Regions from separate parts of the Homo sapiens genome. Here all the other regions are linked to region 3. The links are contacts of gene promoters, found by promoter capture Hi-C in blood cells and fetal thymus (Javierre and others, 2016). All regions are on one chromosome and are shown on one strand. Each heading gives the region's core, a stretch centred on a gene start or on the middle of the fragment in contact. The rest is flanking DNA. Distances are from core to core; before and after follow the strand shown.

Region 1 (3,772 bases), core at 1,266-3,765, 260 kb after region 3:
AAGACTTTTACCAAGTTTCTTCTATCTCACACAATATGAATATTCAATGTATGTGGTAAATAAATAAGATGAATAAAAAGTGTAATGTATAATGTTTTGTGTATTTTAGTACTTTCCTGACTTAACCCACTTTAAATGATCAGTCATTTTATGTTTTGTCCCAGTAATTCTCCTTGGACCATTCTGACTTTATAGCAATGTAAAATGTCTCTCTATAGCCTTATGGAATTTTAATCAAATAGCTTTTGCTCAGAACTTAAAAAGACATTTGTCCTTGGGGCTAAAATTAGCCATGAAAAAGATTAAAAACAAAGCAAATTTAGAATATAATCAGTACTTTCAAAATGAGCTCAATTTGTGCTTCATCTTCATTTATAACACTTGCTTCTTCTTAGCTTCTAATAGAATAAGAAATAATTGTGCAAAGAATATATTTACATTTCTGAGGTTCCAAAAACAGATGAACCTCACAAGCTCATGCTCTTTTGTGTTTTGCAATGTCACAGGCCGCCTTGGTTGGAATGATTCACATAATGATCACTCTCTGAATAGGAAAAAATTCCAGGTCCTATACATTTTCACCAGATGTCCTATTCCTGCATTTTTTTCAGAGTTATTAAATATAGTACCTTTTTTCCTACTCTGGTAAATGGATCTGTTTGGATACCATCTTTCTTTCAAACACTATTTTCAGACAGGACCTCAGCAGTGCTTAAAGACTCCTGTTATGGTTTGAGTGTGTCACTCAAAAGTTCATGTGTTAGAAATTTAATCCCCAATGCAATAGTTTTGGGAGGTAAGGACTAATAAGAGGTGACTAGGTCATAAGTGTGGAACCTCCACAAATAGATTAATCATATGAGCAGGTTAGTTATCTCAAGAGGAGGCTGTTTATAAAGCAAGTTCAGTTTCTGGTATCTCTCTCTATCATAAGTGCTCTCTTCCACCTTTCACCCTCTGCAATAAGATGAGCCTCACCAGATGCTGGCACCATGTTCTTGGACTACTCATTCTCCAATAACCCTGAGCCAAATAAACTTCTATTATTTATAAGTTACCCAGTCTGTGGTATTGTGTTATAGAAGCAGAAAATGGACTAAGACAACTTCACTACCTGGCCAAGATGAACCTCAAGTATCACAGAAAAAGTAGCAAAGGGATGTCCAAAGCTAATTAAGTGTCAATATACTTGAGAGTTATTTTAAAAATGCAGAAATTATACTTTGTTGGACTAAACCAGATAAGGCACCCAATTGAGAAGTACTTCTGAGACATTTTATCTTTAAGTACTTGTTTTGATGATTTGGAAAGGTCTGGATGGAAATATAACTAATATTTATCAGGGTATTATGTGGGTTATTGCTCTTATCTGAAGTTGAGGTTAATAATTCAACTGATTATCAAATATGTTCCAAGAATTTGGATAAAATATTTACCAATTAATATATACAGATGGATAGATTTCATAACAAGTCCTGACATTTTTCCACATCCCCACTTATACTTTCTCAAATGTACTTAGCTCCTTGCAGCTCCTTGACAGTGCTTGGGGCTAAATGGTTCTTTCTCCATGCAGTGTGCTTTTCCATTCCCCACCTCGCCTGCCTTTCAAACCAGCTTGGAGGAAACCTATTTTACTGAGCTCTCTTCAGACACACAACACTCCCTCCCTCACCAGACACCCACAAAATCTCCTTACTTTGTGCTGATTACTTATTTCCCTAGTTCCAGTCACTTTATAAACTGAAGTTAATTTTTTTGATTATGGGCTTATCACAGGGCCTGGCTTACAGAAAACACTCAGAAAATGCAATAACCACAGGTAGGGAGTAGGGAAGGATTTCATGAATTTCTTCCTCCTCTGAAGGAAGTTTTAAGCTCCTGAAAGCCAGAAAACCAAACAAGAAACAAAATGAAATTCTCAGGAGCACCTTTTTGCTGAAAAGAGAACCCCAAATACCCAAAATTTAGTCAAATATTCATATCCATATCCTTTCAGGACTAGGTAGTTATATGTAATTTTAGGAATACTAAATAGAGAATAGGATCATAATTTCAGCTGGTCACTGACATTTAGCTCTTCTTCCTGCTGACATTTACAAAAGAAAATACAGAGGGTTAAAGTCTATGAAGTCTCTCAGGGTCTACAATACCTCTTTCTTCTAAGAGCACTCTTGTCTATTTATAGTGATATATCCAGGTGCAAATTACAAAGAAATCTTACTGTTTACACTCAGGCTCATGCTGTCCTGCTCTAAAAGAAAATTGGCTGCACATGGACTTGTCCAGTTGTTTTTTCCGGTAACTGCCTGTGTATGTTGTCACGGAAGAATCTGACCATCGTGTTTCATCCTGCCAAGATGCTCCAGCCTTGCGTCTGATCAGATCAAACTCTTGAGAAGTAAGAGGGCTAAAGGGCAGAAGAATTTGTGGAGTCAAGTAGAAGTAGTGTGACATAACTACGAACGGCCTCTCTGGAAAACAACTTGTCAAGTCCTCTGCATAATGAAGAATTAATTTCCTTCTAGTAGCAGGAAGCAATTGACTGGGCTCACCAAACTTTGTGACTCAACAGTTCACAGAGTGCAGAAGCTTAACTGTCTTAGATATAGTTGCCAAGCAACAGATCACAAAATTCCACAAATGCTATCCCCTTGCCTCCCAAGGGAGGTAAATTTTAACTAACAAATTTGTAAGTTATATAACTTTCTGGATTTTGCTCTAAGAAATATGAAATATGCTGCTTCATAATTATGGCAAGAAAGCAGGTGGCAAAATTATTTGTATTTTACTGCTATCATGAATAAAGCAGTAATTCTTAATGATGGTGGTTCAAGAAGTGGAAACAAGAGATGAAAGAACAGTGCCAAGCATTCACTTCTCCTAAAGACCTCCAAGTGTCTGGAAGAGAACATGAACTGCTTGTAATGTCAACAATAGCAGGTGACTCAACAGCTTCTCATATGTCACAGAGTAGTGGTGCTCTGGCTGGCTGCACACTAGAGTCACCCTGGAAGCTGTTAAAATAAGCAGGAGTCCACGCCCCCACCACAGAGATTCTGATTTAGTTCATGTGGAGTAGGGCCCAGGCATCACTATTTGTTTAAAGCTTAATCCTGGAGGATTCTAAAGAGCAGCCAGGGTTAAGAATTAAGGTCATGGACACGGAAAAAACATTTGACAAAATCCAGCATCCCTTTAGGATTAAAACTTGAGGCAAAATTGGCATAGAAGGGACATACCTCAAAATACTAAAAGCCATCTATGTAAAACCCACAGCCAACATTATACTGAATGGGGAAAAGTTGAAAGCATTCCTCCTGAGAACTGGAAAAGGACAAGGATGTCCACTTTCACTACTTCTATTCAACATAGTACTGGAAGTCCTAGCCAGAGCAATCAGACAAGAGAAAGAAATAAAGGACATGCAAATCAGTAAAGAGGACGTCAAACAGTTGCTGCTCACTGATGATATGATCATATACCTAGAAAATCCTAAAGACTCATCCAAAAAGCTTCTAGATCTGATAAATGAATTCAGTAAAGTTTCAGGATACAAAATCAATGTACACAAATCAGTAGCACTGTTATAAACCAACAGCGACCAAGTTGAGAATCAAATCAAGAACTCAACCCCTTTTATAACAGTTACAAAATAAATAAATAAATAAAATACTTAGGAATACAACTTACAAAGGAGATGGAAGATCTCTACAAGGAGGCTGGGCACGGTGGCTCACGCCTGTAATCCCAGCATTTTGGGAGGCTGAGG
Region 2 (3,764 bases), core at 338-2,837, 290 kb before region 3:
CTACCCATGGTGTGTAGTTATTAAATTAGCACTATAGATATAAAAGCATTAGTTTAAAATATAATAAGTTTTCAGCAATTATTTATCCATCATTTTCCCTCAAATATGTGTTTAGCCGCATACCTTCTTTCCTCCAAGAAGAGGTTGGCTGAGCAATTTTGTAGCTGTTCCTACAAAACACAAAAACTATTTTAAGATGTTGTATTTGAGTCCTTTCCCTTCTTTTTTTTTTTTTTTCTTTTTACTTTTAATGGCTTTATGCTTTAGTAAGAGCTTTCAGGTTAAGTTAACACTTCCTACTCATTCCCCTCTGGGGCTTCTGTGAAGCTTAGAGGACCTTCACGATCACTTATGTAGTTTGAGTATAGGCCCATGGACTCCAGCTGCCCTGGCCAAAAAAGAGTCTAGTCAGAATGCTGCAGCAAAAAATTATCTGATACGTGGTAGGAATTGTAGCCAGTGACTACCATGACAACTCGTGTGGCCTTCAAGTGACTGGGCCAGGGAAGTGAGGTGGGAAGTTTGCTTCAAGAGAAGTTGTCAGCCGGGTGCAGTGGCTCACGCCTGTAATCCCAGCACTTTGGGAGGCCCAGGTGGACGGATCACAAGGTTAAGAGATAGAGACCATCTTGACCAACATGATGAAAATCCGTCTCTACTAAAAATACAAAAATTAGCTAGACATGGTGGTGCGTGCCTGTAGTCCCAGCTACTCAGGAGGCTGAGGCAAGAGAATTGCTTGAACACAGGAGGCAGAGGTTGCAGTGAGCTGAGATTGCACCACTGCACTCCAGCCTGGTGACAGAGCAAGACTCCATCTCAGAAAAAAAAAAAAAAAAAAGGAAGAAGAGGAGAATTTGTCATAGAAAGAAAGTGACTTCGGTGGCTCACGCCTGTAATCCCAGCACTTTGGGAGGCCGAGGCGGGCGGATCACAAGGTCAGGAGATCGAGACCATCTTGGCTAACACGGTGAAACCCCGTCTCTACTAAAAATACAAAAAATTAGCCGGGCGCGGTGGCGGGCGCCTGTAGTCCCAGCTACTCGGGAGGCTGAGGCAGGAGAATGGCATGAACCTGGGAGGCGGAGCTTGCAGTGAGCCGAGATTGTGCCACTGCAATCCGGCCTGGGCTAAAGAGCGGGACTCCGTCTCAAAAAAAAAAAAAAAAAAGAAAAGAAAGTGACTTTTTTTCATGATCACAGAATTTCTCTAAATGGGCTACACGTAAAGACAGTGTTGCAGCTTCAAGATAATATTAATGACAATGGTATGTCAGTTTGGTTATGGATAGCTAAATATTGTGTATGCATTCAATCTTTACATCAACCAAAAGAGCTGAATGATTTTGTGATGTCCTTTTCTCTGATGAGGAAGATGAGGCTCAGAGACCTGGCTAACCCTTCTGCATCACTTTACTGTTTTGTATAAGCTGGAAGTCCAACTGGAGAAGAGAAAAATACCGGACCCTGAAATCTGGAGACTCCTCTCACCTCCCTCATCACCCAGGGATGAATGGCATCTCTTCAAGTCTCACACAATCCCCCCATGGCAGATCAGCAGTCTAAGCAGAAGGGCAAGTGAATTAAAGATGGCTGCAAATCCTCTGTCACTTCTCCCATCAAAAAGTGAAATCTGTTGCCCTTCCTTTTGAATAATGAGGGTTGGTCCTGTGACTCACTATGACAACTTCCAAGGGCTAGGTCTTAAGAGATATGCAGCCTTTGGTTTTGTGTGCTTGGCACACTTCCTCTTGGAACTCAGCCACCATATGGCATAAGAAGACGCAAAGAACAGAACCATATTGCTTCCCACATTCTTCAGCAGACCCATTTGGGCCCTTAGCTGGCAGCCAACACCAACTGCAAGCCATGTGAGGGAGTCAACTAGGCTGCCCCATCCCATTCATTAACACTGAGAGCAGAAGAACTGCCCAGCTGAGCCCAGGCAACCCCAGAATCATGAAAGATGATAAATGGTGGTGTTGGTGGTGATTTTATTTTCAACTACTAAGCCTAGAGGTAATTTGTTCACATCAATAGACAAGCAAAACAGTCTGTTTACATAGGAAAATTCTCTCTTAGACAGAAAAGATCTAAAAAAGTTTGCATACATGGTGCATCTGGCTCTGATGTGATGTGGCCAGATGAAAGCTCTCCACTAATGGGGTCCCTTGTTTGCTTCTTGGGGAGAACGTCTTTTAGAGGGCTAGACATACAGAAGGGATATCTGTGGCCTTATTAGACTACAGTACTTTTGTTTCTTTCCACAGTATTCCTAGAACACTTTCATTTGTGAATGCACAAATTACCTAGGTCTCCATGCATCTAATGGCTGAAGCCAGGGAACAGAGCTACCTAGCCCAGAATCCAGGAGGAGAGAGTCTTGGAATTGATGACCAATGAGCTAAAGCGAGGTGTGGAAAAGGCAGGAGCTGTCTCTTTCCTGAACACTCAATTTTTAAAAATTGTTAAATTGAGGTATAAGGAAAGCCTCATTCTCCTTGGAAAGCTACTGAACTTATTCCTCATTAAATTTTTGTGAGAGTTAAATGTGAAGATATACGCAAACTACTTAGCACAGTTCCCGTATGAATTAGGTGTTCAATAAACAAATATCCTTTCCGAATTTGTAGTGATTTTTGTTTCTGCATTAAAATGATGACTCTATAATAGGTTTCACTCTGAAAAGGCAGCTAATTCCTATGTGCTATATTAGGTGAGCATATTTAAGAGTTATATTCAGATCTGTTGTTTTGACCTCAGATAGTATCTGTGGAGCCACTGTTAAATCAAAGCAATCTTCATAAGGTTATGAGATCAGGTAGATGACCTTCATCCATGAAGCTTTCTTCCTGATATTCCCTGAAAAGACAAGTAAAGACTGTTCTTCAAACTATGCTGGTATAATAATGTTTTTCAGCCTGACCTTTGGCAAAAGGCACTATGTCTGCTAGCTGTTGGGATACACGAATGTTTCCATCAAGTGTAAATGGATGGGAGGTCTCAGATCCATTTACACCTGATGAAAAGGCTTTCTTACCCCACTCTGGTGTTTACGGCCTTGTGTTGCATGTATATGTTTTCCTGAAGATGTGTTCAATCAAGCTCTCAAAAACTTTCCTGACTTTGGATCAATTTCCATGGCGGATTTGCCAGGCTGCTGAGTTGCCCAGAAGACCAAATACCCTTGCATTCACCTAGTCATCCAAATCAGAACTCTAGCAAGTTGTTGAATTCAGTTTTGAAAAGAAAACTTCTTTGGGGGTGGTTTAGGAAGGCAAAGTGAGAGCTGCAGTTCTTTTTCTTGCAGGAGACACAACCCAACATTACTTTTTTTCCCCAAAGAGTTAGAAGAGATGAGACACTAAGGAGGGACAGTATTTTTATTTCTATGGCTTCCTTACCACAACAGAGGAAGCTTAGTGGCCACAGGGGTCTAGTTAATGAGCGGGTTATACAATATTCATTGTGTTGAGTTTAAGTCTTCAAACAGAACGTCTAATTGCAAAAAGAAAGAAGGAAGCCCAATTACAGATGTTAAGACAACAAAGCTCAGGAATAACTCCCTCTGTTGATGAAAGTGTCCTCTCCCGGGTTCCTCCACTAACTGCACATTGACAGAGGCACAATGAGTCCCTGTCTTCATCAGTTATTCTCATTATCTCTGCTCTGTCTGGGACACTCTCCAGGGCCCAAGGAGGGCCACTGAGAGGTCTGGGGTGACAGTCTTCTCAGAGGACTGTTTTCTTGCTACCCACAGAAGGA
Region 3 (3,804 bases), core at 1,229-3,728:
TTTTGGCTGTTGATAGAACACCTATATAATTAAAAGTTGACAGCATTTTCCTGCATGCCTTTAAAAGGTCGCAGGAAATGTACTCTGCTTTGAGGAAAGGCCTAAAGTGTGTTTTCAATTATAGCAAACTAAACATTAGGAAGAGTCCTAGCAATTCAGAAAAGGTAGTGGTGTGTCTATGCAGAGTCATAATCCTGAACACCCTAGCCAAAGGTTCTGAGAGAGCAGTGGTGAAGTGTGGTGACCATTTTGTTCAGCTGTAAAGATTCTACACACTCAGAGCATTGGTCTACTTGGAAAGGATGGGCTCTAATTTATCATTAATATATTAATTTCAAGTCCAATGTCACCGACAATAGTCAAAATTATGGCAAATTGAATTTGACCTGAGTGGAAAGATAGTTATATTTCAAATTATAATGCAGGGCAACCTAACTACCAGTTTTTTAAAACCAACATTTGAGGAAGAACTGGTTTAAGGATGATGCTCCTTTTTTTTTTTTTTTTTTTTTTTTGAGATGGAGTCTCGCTCTGTCGCCAGGCTGGAGTGCAGTGGCCCGATCTCGGCTCACTGCAACCTCCGCCTCCCAGGTTCAAGCGATTCTCCTGCCTCAGTCTCCCAAGTAGCTGGGACTACAGGAGTGTGCCACTACATCCAGCTAATTTTTGTATTTTTAGTAGAGACGGGATTTCACCATGTTGGCCAGGATGGTCTCGATCTCTTGACCTCGTGATCTGCCCACTTCCGCCTCCCAAAGTGCTGGGATTACAGGGTGCTCCATTTTAAACTTGACTGCTCTCTGTTTTGGTTTTAGATTGAATTCATGCAGGTGTTTCAAACCTCGCTTTCAATAGCATTACTTGTTACTGGGAAGCTAGATCTTTTGGGGGGAGTTGGCAGGGAGGGGTTGAACGTGAGATTTCTCTATCAGTGAAAGACATCTTTTGGGAGATACAGCACTCTTTAAGCTTCACTTATAAAAGTGTGCAATATAAAGCCTTATTATTATTTTTAATAAGGCAAGTCAGAATTTAACCCCCATGGCTCTCTTTAACACCACTGAAGTTGTAAGAATTAACTCAACCTCAAAGAGGCATGAGTTATCCATGTAGGCTTATAGAGTGTCATTTTAATGTTCTATGTCTTTACTGTGCCTCCACTTTCTTTGATGAAAAGGTCTATTTAAAAATTGGTAGGAAAATATTTAACATAATAAGATGATGAGTCAGAGTTTTAAAAAAGCTAAAAAGGGAAGATGTAGTTAAATAATGCACCTTTTTATTTTCTAGCTACATGACTCATGACATATAATGTATTCTGCTAAGTTCAAAGTTTCCTCTTACAAAGAGAGTTTTATGAAACAACTCTTCTTCAGACCATTTTTATTTCAATTATAGTAGCAGGTTTTGGAGTTTAAATCATTAACAACCTCTGAGTGAACTTTTATCCAAATGACTGCAAGTCACAAAGAGAACAGTCCTCTTTCACCAAGTACCTTTTGTGCTCTAGTGAGACCCGTCCTTTTCTATTTTTCTCCTTTATGTCTCTCTTTGAAGAAAGATGTGTGATTTGTAAGGTAATGAAAGTATGTATCAGTTAATGAAAACTGCTATATTGGGCTCATAATGCACACTGGAATTGCTTCAGGGTAAACTTCATATACCTGCAGTATATAGCAGGGGAAAAAGTGAATTTCCGAAGTAAAGATTGCTGTGTGCACTCTAGGAGTATCACGTAGCAGTTAAAGCAACCATCAGGGGTGACCTAATCTTATTTTCCTCTCTTTGTCAAGTAGCTGTAATGTTCATTTAGGAGCATTTTTCAGTTTTAACTCCAGTGGACACTCCAAAACTGGGCACTTATTCTGTCAACTGTCAACCAAGTTATTGATTTCACCATATGTTGTCTTCATTTTTTTTAAATTAGTTTTTTTGGAATGTTTTTGAAGAGTGTGTGGGAGACGATAACCTCCAGATTTAAGGTGATGGGGTAGGGACAAAAGCCTGCAGAATTTCATACAGAACAAAATGTAGCTTAATAAACAAAAGAAAGTGAAGAGAGAAATTTATTTCCTTTTTAAAAGTCAGTAAAATAATGAACTAATCGTTGTTTAAAGAGTGAGAAAAACTTTTTCCCCCTAGATTTGGTGACTAGCGGGATAAATTTGAAGAACTCCATCCCACCCCCGCACGCGCGCCCCCCATTCTTTCCAGACAGAGCGGTTGTAAATCCGAGGCTGAGTCCGCCCTGGGAGCCTTGGGGCACTTTCCTCTTTGCTCTGTGTGTGTGTGTGCGTGCGTGTGTGTGTGTGTAGCTCTCGCTCTTTCCCTCAGTCTGTGCCTCTTGTGTGTGTGTGTGTGTGACAGAGAGAGAGCGAGAGAGAGAGCGCGAGAGGAGAGAGAGCGAGAAAGAGAGAGAGAGAGAGCAAGAGAGCGAGCTGTGAGCTGTGCTGCCGCCGCCGCTGCCCTTTGATCCCGACATTAGTGTTAGGGGCTCGGAGACACAGAGCGCGGCCATAGACACCGCCGCACCGGCACTCATTTATTTATACCTCCCATCACACACGCGAGCATAGGACACACACACACTCACACCTATTAGATCCGTTTCCATTGAAGAATATTACGCTCGGGGACAAGCCAGGTGCACGACCAAAAATTTAAAAAAAAAAAAAAAAGGAAAAAAGAAAGGAAAGAAAAGAAGAAAACCCCTCTTCTGGCTCCAGGAAACAAGCTTCAACCCATTGCACACACCGGAGAAGGGGTTTCCCCCTGCCCGCCCGCCCGCCCCCCAACTACCTCCCCGCTCCTGCCAGTGTCTGCCTCTCTGCCCCCACGGGGGTTTATTTGATCTCACATTAACCAAGGAGGAGAATGTGAGAAAAGGGGGAAAATGCCCAGGAGGAAGCAGGAGCAGCCCAAGCGCCTTCCCTCACGTAAGTCATCCCTTCTCCACCTCCTCTCGTGCCATTTTCTCGCCCTCCCTCTCCTCTTTCCCCTCCGCAGCCTCCTCCGTTGTTTTCTGCATTAGTTTAGGGTTACAGAGGTGAAACTGACAAAGACACAGCCCGGGTTACTCCTCGTTTAGGTCTATGCTGAGGCAGCCATGTTGGTGATGATCAGCCCCGTGCCCTTTCTATTCTCTCTCTCTTTTTCTTTCTTTCTCTCACCCCCCCCCTTTTTTTCCTTGAGATCGGGCTTTTTTTTCCCTTTCCCTCCCCTTCCCCCTCCTCACTCTGGGTTGCTGGGGGGAGGGGGCAAGAGAAGGGAGGAGGGGAGTAGTGTGGATGCCGGGGGTTTTATCGGGGGTTTGGTGGGGGGAGGTGGGAGAGGTTGGAATCTTAAAAAAAAAAAAATTCCTTGTGGATTCCGGCGCCTGAGGGTGCGGGGGTCGGGGCGCGCGGAGGGCTGGGGGCCGTGACATGGCGTTTGGGGGTGTCGGGGAGAGGGCGCGCAGCAGCCGCCGGGTACAGGATCCAGGGAGAGGTCCGTCCCTGGCTAAAGGTTGCGCCGGGGTTGGTCGGCCCCCGAGCCGCCGGCGGCAGCGGCGGCGGCGGCTGGAGCAGGAGGAGGCGGAGGTGGAGGAGGCGGCGGCGGAGGAGGGGAGTCGGGGGCGGGCGAGGCGGGAGCGGCTGGGGAGGGTGTAGGGGCACCGCACACAAACACACGGGTACACACGCGCCGCCGGGCGGCTGCTCCCGCGGCGCCGAGGCGAGGGGGCGCGCCGGGGCGCGGGGCGGCCGGGCGGGGGGCGAGGCCGGGCAGCGGCGGGCGGATGTGGGGTGCGGGAGCTGCGCCGAGGCG
Region 4 (3,923 bases), core at 1,056-3,555, 270 kb before region 3:
GGGTTGGTGCCCACCACGGAGAGGAGGCGGTGAGAGAGTGTGGCTCTGAGCCAGATCATGCGCTAAGCCCGAAGCCCGAGAGACAGCAGTGAGTTGGCCTCCAATCCCCACCCACATGAAGGAGACCCAGCTGTGTGCACCCGGAAAGCAAGAAAATACTGTGTTTTGTTTGTTTGTTGCTTTTATTTTGGGAATCTGCTTGAGGTCATTTCACACTAGCAATTTGGCTGGACTTGATATATTAACATGATTGAATCTGTTACCTTAACATCCCCTGGCCCTGAGTAGAACAGTTAATATTAACGTCATACCAAGGGAAAGTCTTGGGGTGGGTTTTATGGTTATAAATCAGATACTCTGTGTCCTTCGGTAAATCACTTAACTTCTCTGGGTTGCCTCAGGTATAAAATAAAAAGGTTTGAATTAAATAATCTCTTCTATTTCTTCCAGCAAGAAAATGATACACATTTTCAAGGTTTTATTTTAGTTATAAAGGCATAAGAATGAGCTACTCTTAAAACAGCTTGAGATGGCATGCATTAAAGTCTGGCACGTAATTATAACCTGCGTTGACACCATCCCACACTCACTCCTGGTTTAAGAGTCTGCCTTGGAAAAGTTTGCAAATGAAGGAGGAACCTGTTGAGCTCACTATTCTAGTCCTGTTTCCTGCTCCTTCACTCCAGCAGACAAGTGGACATTTTCTTCATTTTCAAAGATCTTGGAGATGAAGATAATGGCTTTTGTAACTCATGAACAGTCTTTCCTATCCAAATGTTTTTCCTACCTTGGTAATGACTTCCTGCTGAGATTGACTGGTGTTTTTACATAGAAATCTGCTATTCCAGTATCATCATTGTGATTAGCATTTTAATGTTTAGATAGATTTTTTAAAACTATCTGAAGATTTCTGGAGTGCTGGGATAATCTATGTAAGAGAAAAATACAATTCTCTTTAAACTCTACATGAAAGTGGGAAGTCAATGGTCATTCATGTACGTTTAGCAGGTCTGCTGACTTTTGCATCATCCTCCATGCTACTGTGCACTTTCTGCCATTTAAAAAAAAAAAGTTGAGTGCCTTTTTTTTTTCTTTTGAGACAAGGTCTCACTCTGTCATCCAGGCTGGAGTGCAATGGTGCAATCACAGCTCACTGCAGCCTCAACTCCCAGGCTCAGGTGATCCTCCAGCCTCAGCCTCCTGAGTAGCTGGGAATATAGGCATGTGCCACCACTCCTGGCTAATTTCTGTATTTTTTGTAGAGATAGAGTTTCACCATATTGCTTAGGCTAGTCTCAAACTCCTGTTTGGGCTCAAGCAATCCTCCTGCTTCTGCCTCCCGAAATCTTGGGATTACAGGTGTGAGCCACTGTGCCCAGCCTAGTGCTTTTATTCTACCCAATAATCCTCTCCTTCATTATCCCTGTTAAAGAACAGTACAGTCAAACAGGATTTCTAAGTTAATTAATATTTGAATTCTTACTATTTGTAAAGCAACTTGCAAGAGAGTCTGCTGATAAAGTATCGGCAGGATCTTCTCCCTAGGAACTGACATTTTACTTGGGGTGAGGTAGCAAGGTAAAGAAGAAAGAGCTCTGAAGTCAGACAGCAAACTAGTTACATGACCTTGGAAAGTTAATGCTGGTGAGCCTCAGTTTTACCATCTGCAAAATGGGGAGACTATTAGATTTCTCACAAAGGTGTTGTAAGGATTAGATGCTCTCTAGCAGTGATGCAGAGCAGTAAACAAGCTATGATCAGAAGAGAGATAAAAGCCAGGTTACCAGAGTCTGGGATGCCAGAATATTTCAAGTAGAATCAGGAAAATATGGTTGATTTTAGAGGTTAGGTGGAGTTTAGACAGATGAGATGGGTAAAAGGATATTCAAAGCAGGAGAGAGAGTTTGAACAAAGGTGTGAACACTAGCTGTGTTTGTAGTAATTATCCAGACATAAAATGAGGTGCATTTGACGCAGGATAGTGGGGACTGAGATGTTGAGAGAGTAAATGGAAGTAAGACTTGGAGACCTTTTGTATGGAGGCAAAGTGGGGATCAAAAATTGGCATTTAGGGAGTCTGGACAAGTACTATAATTTATGTCCAAAAGAGGGGAGTTGGTGGCATTCAATTTTAGTTACACTGGAAATGTACTCTGAGCATTTATTCATTCCTTCAGCCAACCTTTATTAAATGCCTACTAAGTGCAGGTCATGGGCTCTGGGCAGGGGATATAAAGATGAATAACACATAGTCTTCACTCCTCCAGGGCTGGTAAAGCAGAGCAATGCATCAGCAGATAATTGCAAAACAACGAGATTCATGATTAGAGAAATATGATCATGTATCGTTATAGCAGGACAGAAAAAGCATTACCTGGAGTTGATTAAGAGGCTCTTTTTCCCTTTTCAAAGCCTAAACATTCATATCTTGTGACTGCATGCAAAAATGAACCTCAAAGATTGGCATTGAATAATTCTGGGGACTTCTATTATACGTATATGAATGTTTTATCGTATCTTTTTAGGATCCTACACCATGTATACCCTTTATCCTTGTGTAGGCACTTGATCCCATACACCGCCCTGGATTGCAACTGATCAGCTTTAAGTGTGCCATCTTTCCTACTGACCTAGCTCTAAATCCCTGTAGGGTAGGAATTGTCTTAAAATTGCCGAGCTTGGATGCGTAGCACAGCACTATGAACATCGTAAGTTATCTGTGAAATAATGTAGCATAGACCTACGCTAAAGAAGACAAAGGAACATGGATCTCTCTGTTCAGAACTCTATGTGTTCCACTTATTTTAATGCATCCTTTTTCCAACCTTTCCAAGGATAATAGGTCCCATGTATTGAACTCTTACCATGTGCCAGGCACACAGCTAACATTGAACATGTATGAACTCACTTAATCCTCACAATGATCCTATAAAATATGTTCTAATCCCATTTCCACTTTACAGATGAGAAAGCTAAGGCACAGAAAGATTAAAGCAACTTGTTTGAAGTCACATTGCCCATGATTGGAGGCGCTAAGTTTCAAACCCCTGCAGAGTAGCTCTGGAGCCTGTGCCCCTAAATTCTAAGCTGTTACAATGGCCATTGTATAGTCACGAACATGGAAACATACAGAAAAAGTGATGTGGGATGGTTCCAAAAAGCTAATTAAGGGTGGGAGACAAGACTTTGGTTTCCTGCTTCTCTGATACGGACCAGGGTTTGGAGGGCCACTCTGAGTAAGTAAGAAATCTAGCCGGAACTTTCTTTCTCTGCAGACCTCACATCCTAACCCAGCAAACCTACCAGAAGCGGGCAAACTGATTTTGGGACCCACTACTTCAAAGCAAGAAGGTAAAAGCTATTTCAGGGTAACTAGACTTCAGGAGCCCTCAATATTGAACAATGTCAAATGTTTGTCCTTCCTTCCATCCATGGCGGGTTTTCTCAAATTAAAGAACATTTAAAAATTGTAAGGATATATTTTCTTTTCTTCCTTCTCTCTCTTTTTAAAAGTAAAGAATGCAGCATTATGGTTGAGTATCTAAATGTCATCCTTTATATTCTCATCGTCCACACTGCCCTTTGATCGCCCATCACAGAAGCAGTCACAACAAACAGGGTTTACTCTCCTTTAAAGAGGCAATCCAAACCTCTTATCCACTCTGCAGCAAGAAGCAACTAATTGTCTGGTTAGCCCCCAATCTCCCTTGGCAATGGGGAAATACTAAAATCTTTGAATGAGAAAGTCCTTCATCAAATTTTTTAACTTTTAATTTTAAAACATTTTTTCAAGGAACCTGCAAATGCCAAACTCCAAAAGTGTTTCTCTGGTCCACGTTCATGGGCCATTTCTGCAGGACCAATTCCTTCTTTTGCTCTAAGACTCAGCTCCAGAGCTGGATCCACATTTCCTTCAAACCAGC
Region 5 (4,209 bases), core at 1,687-4,186, 320 kb before region 3:
AGTGTACTTGTAGAGCAATGGGGAAATGCTTTTGGTGGAAATTACTTTAGTCAGAAAAAGAATCCATTTACAATATGTGCCTTCTAACATCTTTCAGACAATGCATTGTATTAAAGAGGCATTTTTTGATTAATGTTTTATAAACATTTTTCAGCATGACAGCTTAAAGTCCCTGTAAAATTGTAAATGCGTGCATAGTGTTCACTTCCATAAAGTCAAATGCCATCTCATAAAGTCTAGTTGAATCCTGTCAACCATGGTGACACAGAATCAGTACCTGGGAGCATTAAAATTAATTTGCTTCATTTATATTACCGCAGTGATAGCAAGATGAAAAGAGTCCTATATTTAAATTTTACTTTAAAAGGAAAACTCTTTCTAGTAAGTTTGTTTGGGTTTTTTAATTATTACTTTTTTTTTCTAATTAACAAATGTAGTAAAAATGGAGTGATAGTCTGCACAATAACTTTATGACAGAATCTGGAAAAATACAAGTTCATTCATTCAACACACTCCTTTTGACCACCTACCATATGCTCAACAATGAAGAAGAAACTGTTGCTGACCCTAAGAAGCTTACAGCTTGGTAAAGGAAATGCACAAGAAGCAGGCAATGATAATAAGGGTAGCGAAGGTGAGGCTGGAATGCCCTGGCGTAGGTAAGCATGGAGTGGAAAGGATCTAAAGGCCACCTTGGGACTCTGAGGATGGCTTCCCAGAGGAGGCAACCTAAGAACTGAGAGCTAAAGGATACAGAGGAGTTGGGTGGGTCATGAATGGGTGATGAGCATTCTAGGCAGAAAGAGCTCAGGTGCAAAGCCTAGGGGCAAGACAGAGAATGGCACGTGGCCAAGGATGGGTGGGAGGACCACAAGGTGCCCATCATGGCTGGAGCGCCCAGGTCAAAGAGCAGAGAAGTAGTGAGATTTAGAGTGAAAAAGAGCAAAAGCTTGGGGCAAGTCATGAAGTCCTCTTATGCTCTTATGCCACACTTAGGGATCTCTCCTGTGTGATACACTTCTGCGTGATGTGACACGATCAGATTTGCACTTTAGAATGTTCACTCTGGTCACAGAGTAGAAAATGGCTTGGACAGGACAACTCTGAAGGCAGAGAGACTGGTTCGAGACTGTGGAAGAGGTGCTCTTAAACGAAGGTGAGGGGGATGGAGGTGTGAGTGGTCACCCATGTGCCCAGTAAGTTATGGAAATGCAGGGTTAGGTCAAATCACGCTTCCCAGGATTCCTAGCCCTTCTACAGAGTACTTGATCAGTTACATGAGTTCTAATTGAATAAATCAGTGAGCAAGTGGATTAGTAAGCAAGTGAGTGATGAGGACAAAAGAGTGGTGCGTTACATAGTCTTCTGGAATAAGAGATGCAGCTGATTTTCTCTGATTTGATGTGAAGAGCAAATGTTGCCGAATTCTTGGCCAGCTGACAGAAATCACAGTGTGGTAAGTGCAGTGGCTTTTAGCAGGTTCTCAACCTCTCTCAACAATTGAGATGACCCCCAAGTTTCCAGTTGTTGTCCAGATAGTGCTGCTAACAGCAAAGATGCCTTAGAGAAGAGATATTGAGCTCACCACTTCCAAATGATCGCCACCATAGCATGGAAACTCGAACATGGGAAGTGTTAACTCTCACTCTGCTTATCCCAACTTCTCTTTCTATTCTGACCTTGGAGAAACTGAAGATGTACTAAGTAGATGCTTGGGATTGCAGGGAGGAGAAGTGGGGGAGAGGTTGAAAGAAAGCAAGGAAAGAAAAGGTTGAGATAAATAGATTTAGAAGAAACTCTAATAATTGAAAAGGAAAGTAGATAATTGAATGATTGAAAAGGAAAATTTTAAGTCCATAGAGCAGTGGGGGAAATGCTTTTGGTGGAAGTTAGTCAGAAAAAGAATCCATTTACAATATGGGCCTTCTAGCATCTTTCAGACATGCATTGTCTGAAATAAAATAAAGTTTCCTAAAACAAGTAACATATGACTCGAGTCGCTGGAGTGGGCCTCCCCCTGGCGAGTGATTGACTTGTGAATCCACCATGTGAGAGTGGCATAGAGAGGGTACATGAAAGAGACTTGGACCATGACCTCTGGGAGCTATTTTTTTCTCTGATATATTATTTTCAAACATATTTTTAACATTATTCACTTGTGGGGGTAGAGATAGGAAATTTGATTAATGACTAGCAAGAAGATATTGCAGGCACATAAAGTGGTAGGGGGAAATTCCTATTTAATTTGACAAATTTTGGCCGCAGCTGCAAGTGATCGTGGATCCCTTCTCTTTTTCAAGCAAAGGGAATGACTGTTATACAAGGCAGAGTAAGAAGAGGGCAACCAGGGTCCGTCAGGAAAGCAGAAATCACCCTTTGAATACAGGGAATTGATTAAATAGTGTTGGAAAGCTGAAAAGGGAAATGGCAACAGTGAGGGAACAAGACAAATAAATGCAGAAAGTAGCTGGAGCTGGGGGGGCAAAGGGAAGAAGTTAGAATTTTCAGAACCTAGAAGCTTGGAGAGAGGCAGCAGAGCAGGTTCTCAGACATCTGAGAAGGGGCACTGCCCCGCTGGTGCTGTGGCCCTCAGGGGCATGATGAGTTATAGGCTGGAGCCAAGTACCCCTGCACTGGTGAAGGGGCCTGGCAGGAAGCCCAGACTAGAAAGAAATTCCTCCTCCTCCTCCAGCCTTCCTCTGGGGCCCCTTGCAAGGAGCAGCTGACCAGAAGGACAGGTGTTTGCAGAGTCCCAGCTTCCTTGCAAGAGCAGTGGAGAGAAGGGTGTGTTTGAAGGAGAGAGATAAGAGCTGAAGAACCAGCAATGGCCGGAAGAGAACTTCCTAAAACTTGACATTAGGGTCCAAAGAAGGGAGAGATCATTTGTCCACCTTCAGCTTCTTGAGGATCAAAGCTATGTCTTTGAATCCATGGCTTCCTTGCCACTATTGGGGTAGCCCTAGCAGTTGCTTTTGACATATTTGAAATCACAGGGACGTCCTGGTGTGGCGAGCACGGGAGTTTGACACCATACTGCCCCTGGAAGTGCTTCTGGGAGGTCTTCAAGGAGAATGAGTTCCAAAAGGACAGCTGGACTTGAAAGTGTTTTGCATGCCAGGCCCTCTCCCTTTTCACAGCAGCTGCAGTGCCCATGGCATCTGGAACTGACCTTACCTGATATGGAGAACTGGAAATTCAGGTTGCCTGAGTCGCAGTTTAGAGCCTACCACTAAGAAATTTTCCTGACCACTAGGTGCTTCAGTTTCCTCATCAATAGAACTTTTTGTTTACTTATTGTAGCAGCAGCATCTGGGACTATCTCTATGGCTTCCCTTCTGAGATCACTTAAGCTTGCTGAAGACTGAATGACACAGAGCCCAGATTCTTAGCTAAGAATGGACAACATAGGTGGTTTAGCCCAGCAGCCTCAGTCCTCAAATCTGGGGTTAGCAAATCCTGCTCTGGTCATTTTTAGGGACAAAATATCATGATACTTCTATCACTTGCTCCCTTTAGCCTCACATTTACTCCACTCCCATCCCCCAATGTCTTAGCATCACCTCTTTGGGCCAAGGAATGAATAACGTTTCTTGGAAACAGGAGGAGTTGTGTTCAGATTTTATTTTCTCATTGTAACAGCTTTTCAAAACTATAGTATCAGATGCTGCTTTTCAGCAGTAGATTTTTAAAGCTTTTTTTTAAAAAAAGGCCCTTCATTTTTTATGTTAGTATAAAGACAGAAACTGCAAAAAATCTAAGCATGTACTTTAGAAGCTCTCAGAGACTATGTTTGGGAAGAGTTAAGTGTTTTCAGTTTATGGCAATGATATGTGAGGCTGTGAAAAAGAAAGTAACCATGAAACACATTTTGTGCATAAAGGTTTGAAATTTATTAGAAGGTAAAAATAATTGAAAAAGCTAAGCCTTCCTTGTTGTGTTCTAATAAAAAGTTATTTATGTGCCATCATTGTACATGGTTAGGAGCTTAGGTCCTTTTCAGAGGCTGTTATCAGAGAAACAAGAAAGCTAGGCTATTAAAGCTATTCAGTTGAAGAAGCTGATACATACATAGCACTTCTGAAGACTGTGGCTGCATTAAAACAATTAGTAATAATAGTTAGACTGCTAGTGTCTGAATTGTGTTAGTTATAGAAGCTCAAAAATTATGCTCTATAGGCAGCAGCTTATAAAATATACACACCCAGCTCT

The links. Contacts are between HindIII fragments. The CHiCAGO score rates a contact against its expected background, and 5 or more counts as called.
Region 1: a contact is called between the fragment with the promoter of C4orf51 here and the fragment with the promoter of ZNF827 in region 3, in 6 of 17 cell types (endothelial precursors, M0 macrophages, erythroblasts and 3 more). The highest score is 6.3, in endothelial precursors.
Region 2: a contact is called between a fragment that was not itself captured here and the fragment with the promoter of ZNF827 in region 3, in 1 of 17 cell types (naive B cells). The highest score is 5.8, in naive B cells.
Region 4: a contact is called between a fragment that was not itself captured here and the fragment with the promoter of ZNF827 in region 3, in 1 of 17 cell types (total B cells). The highest score is 5.1, in total B cells.
Region 5: a fragment that was not itself captured here is called in contact with the fragment with the promoter of ZNF827 in region 3 in 1 of 17 cell types (total B cells); the score reaches 6.3 in total B cells.

What each region holds. Positions count from the first base shown.
Region 1 is chr4:145,678,889-145,682,660 of GRCh38, reverse strand. C4orf51 (chromosome 4 open reading frame 51) reads right to left here and starts at 2,515. Exons shown (of 6, transcript NM_001080531.3): 1 at 2,225-2,515. The coding sequence starts at 2,457. The HindIII fragment of the contact is 4,880 bases long and covers 1-2,594 here.
Region 2 is chr4:146,230,480-146,234,243 of GRCh38, reverse strand. REELD1 (reeler domain containing 1) reads right to left here. Exons shown (of 8, transcript NM_001354631.1): 8 at 1,977-3,764. The coding sequence ends at 3,731. Among named protein-coding and RNA genes, the nearest start is that of REELD1, 18 kb to the right of the region's middle. The HindIII fragment of the contact is 2,516 bases long and covers 330-2,845 here.
Region 3 is chr4:145,937,497-145,941,300 of GRCh38, reverse strand. ZNF827 (zinc finger protein 827) reads left to right here and starts at 2,478. Exons shown (of 15, transcript NM_001306215.2): 1 at 2,478-2,936. The coding sequence starts at 2,894. RefSeq lists an enhancer at 3,102-3,161 and silencers at 3,536-3,605, 3,726-3,804. The HindIII fragment of the contact is 1,765 bases long and covers 972-2,736 here.
Region 4 is chr4:146,207,784-146,211,706 of GRCh38, reverse strand. No RefSeq gene overlaps it. Among named protein-coding and RNA genes, the nearest start is that of REELD1, 4.8 kb to the left of the region's middle. The HindIII fragment of the contact is 8,496 bases long and covers 1-3,923 here.
Region 5 is chr4:146,259,694-146,263,902 of GRCh38, reverse strand. All of the region lies in intron 10 of SLC10A7 (solute carrier family 10 member 7), which reads left to right. Among named protein-coding and RNA genes, the nearest start is that of REELD1, 47 kb to the right of the region's middle. The HindIII fragment of the contact is 832 bases long and covers 2,521-3,352 here.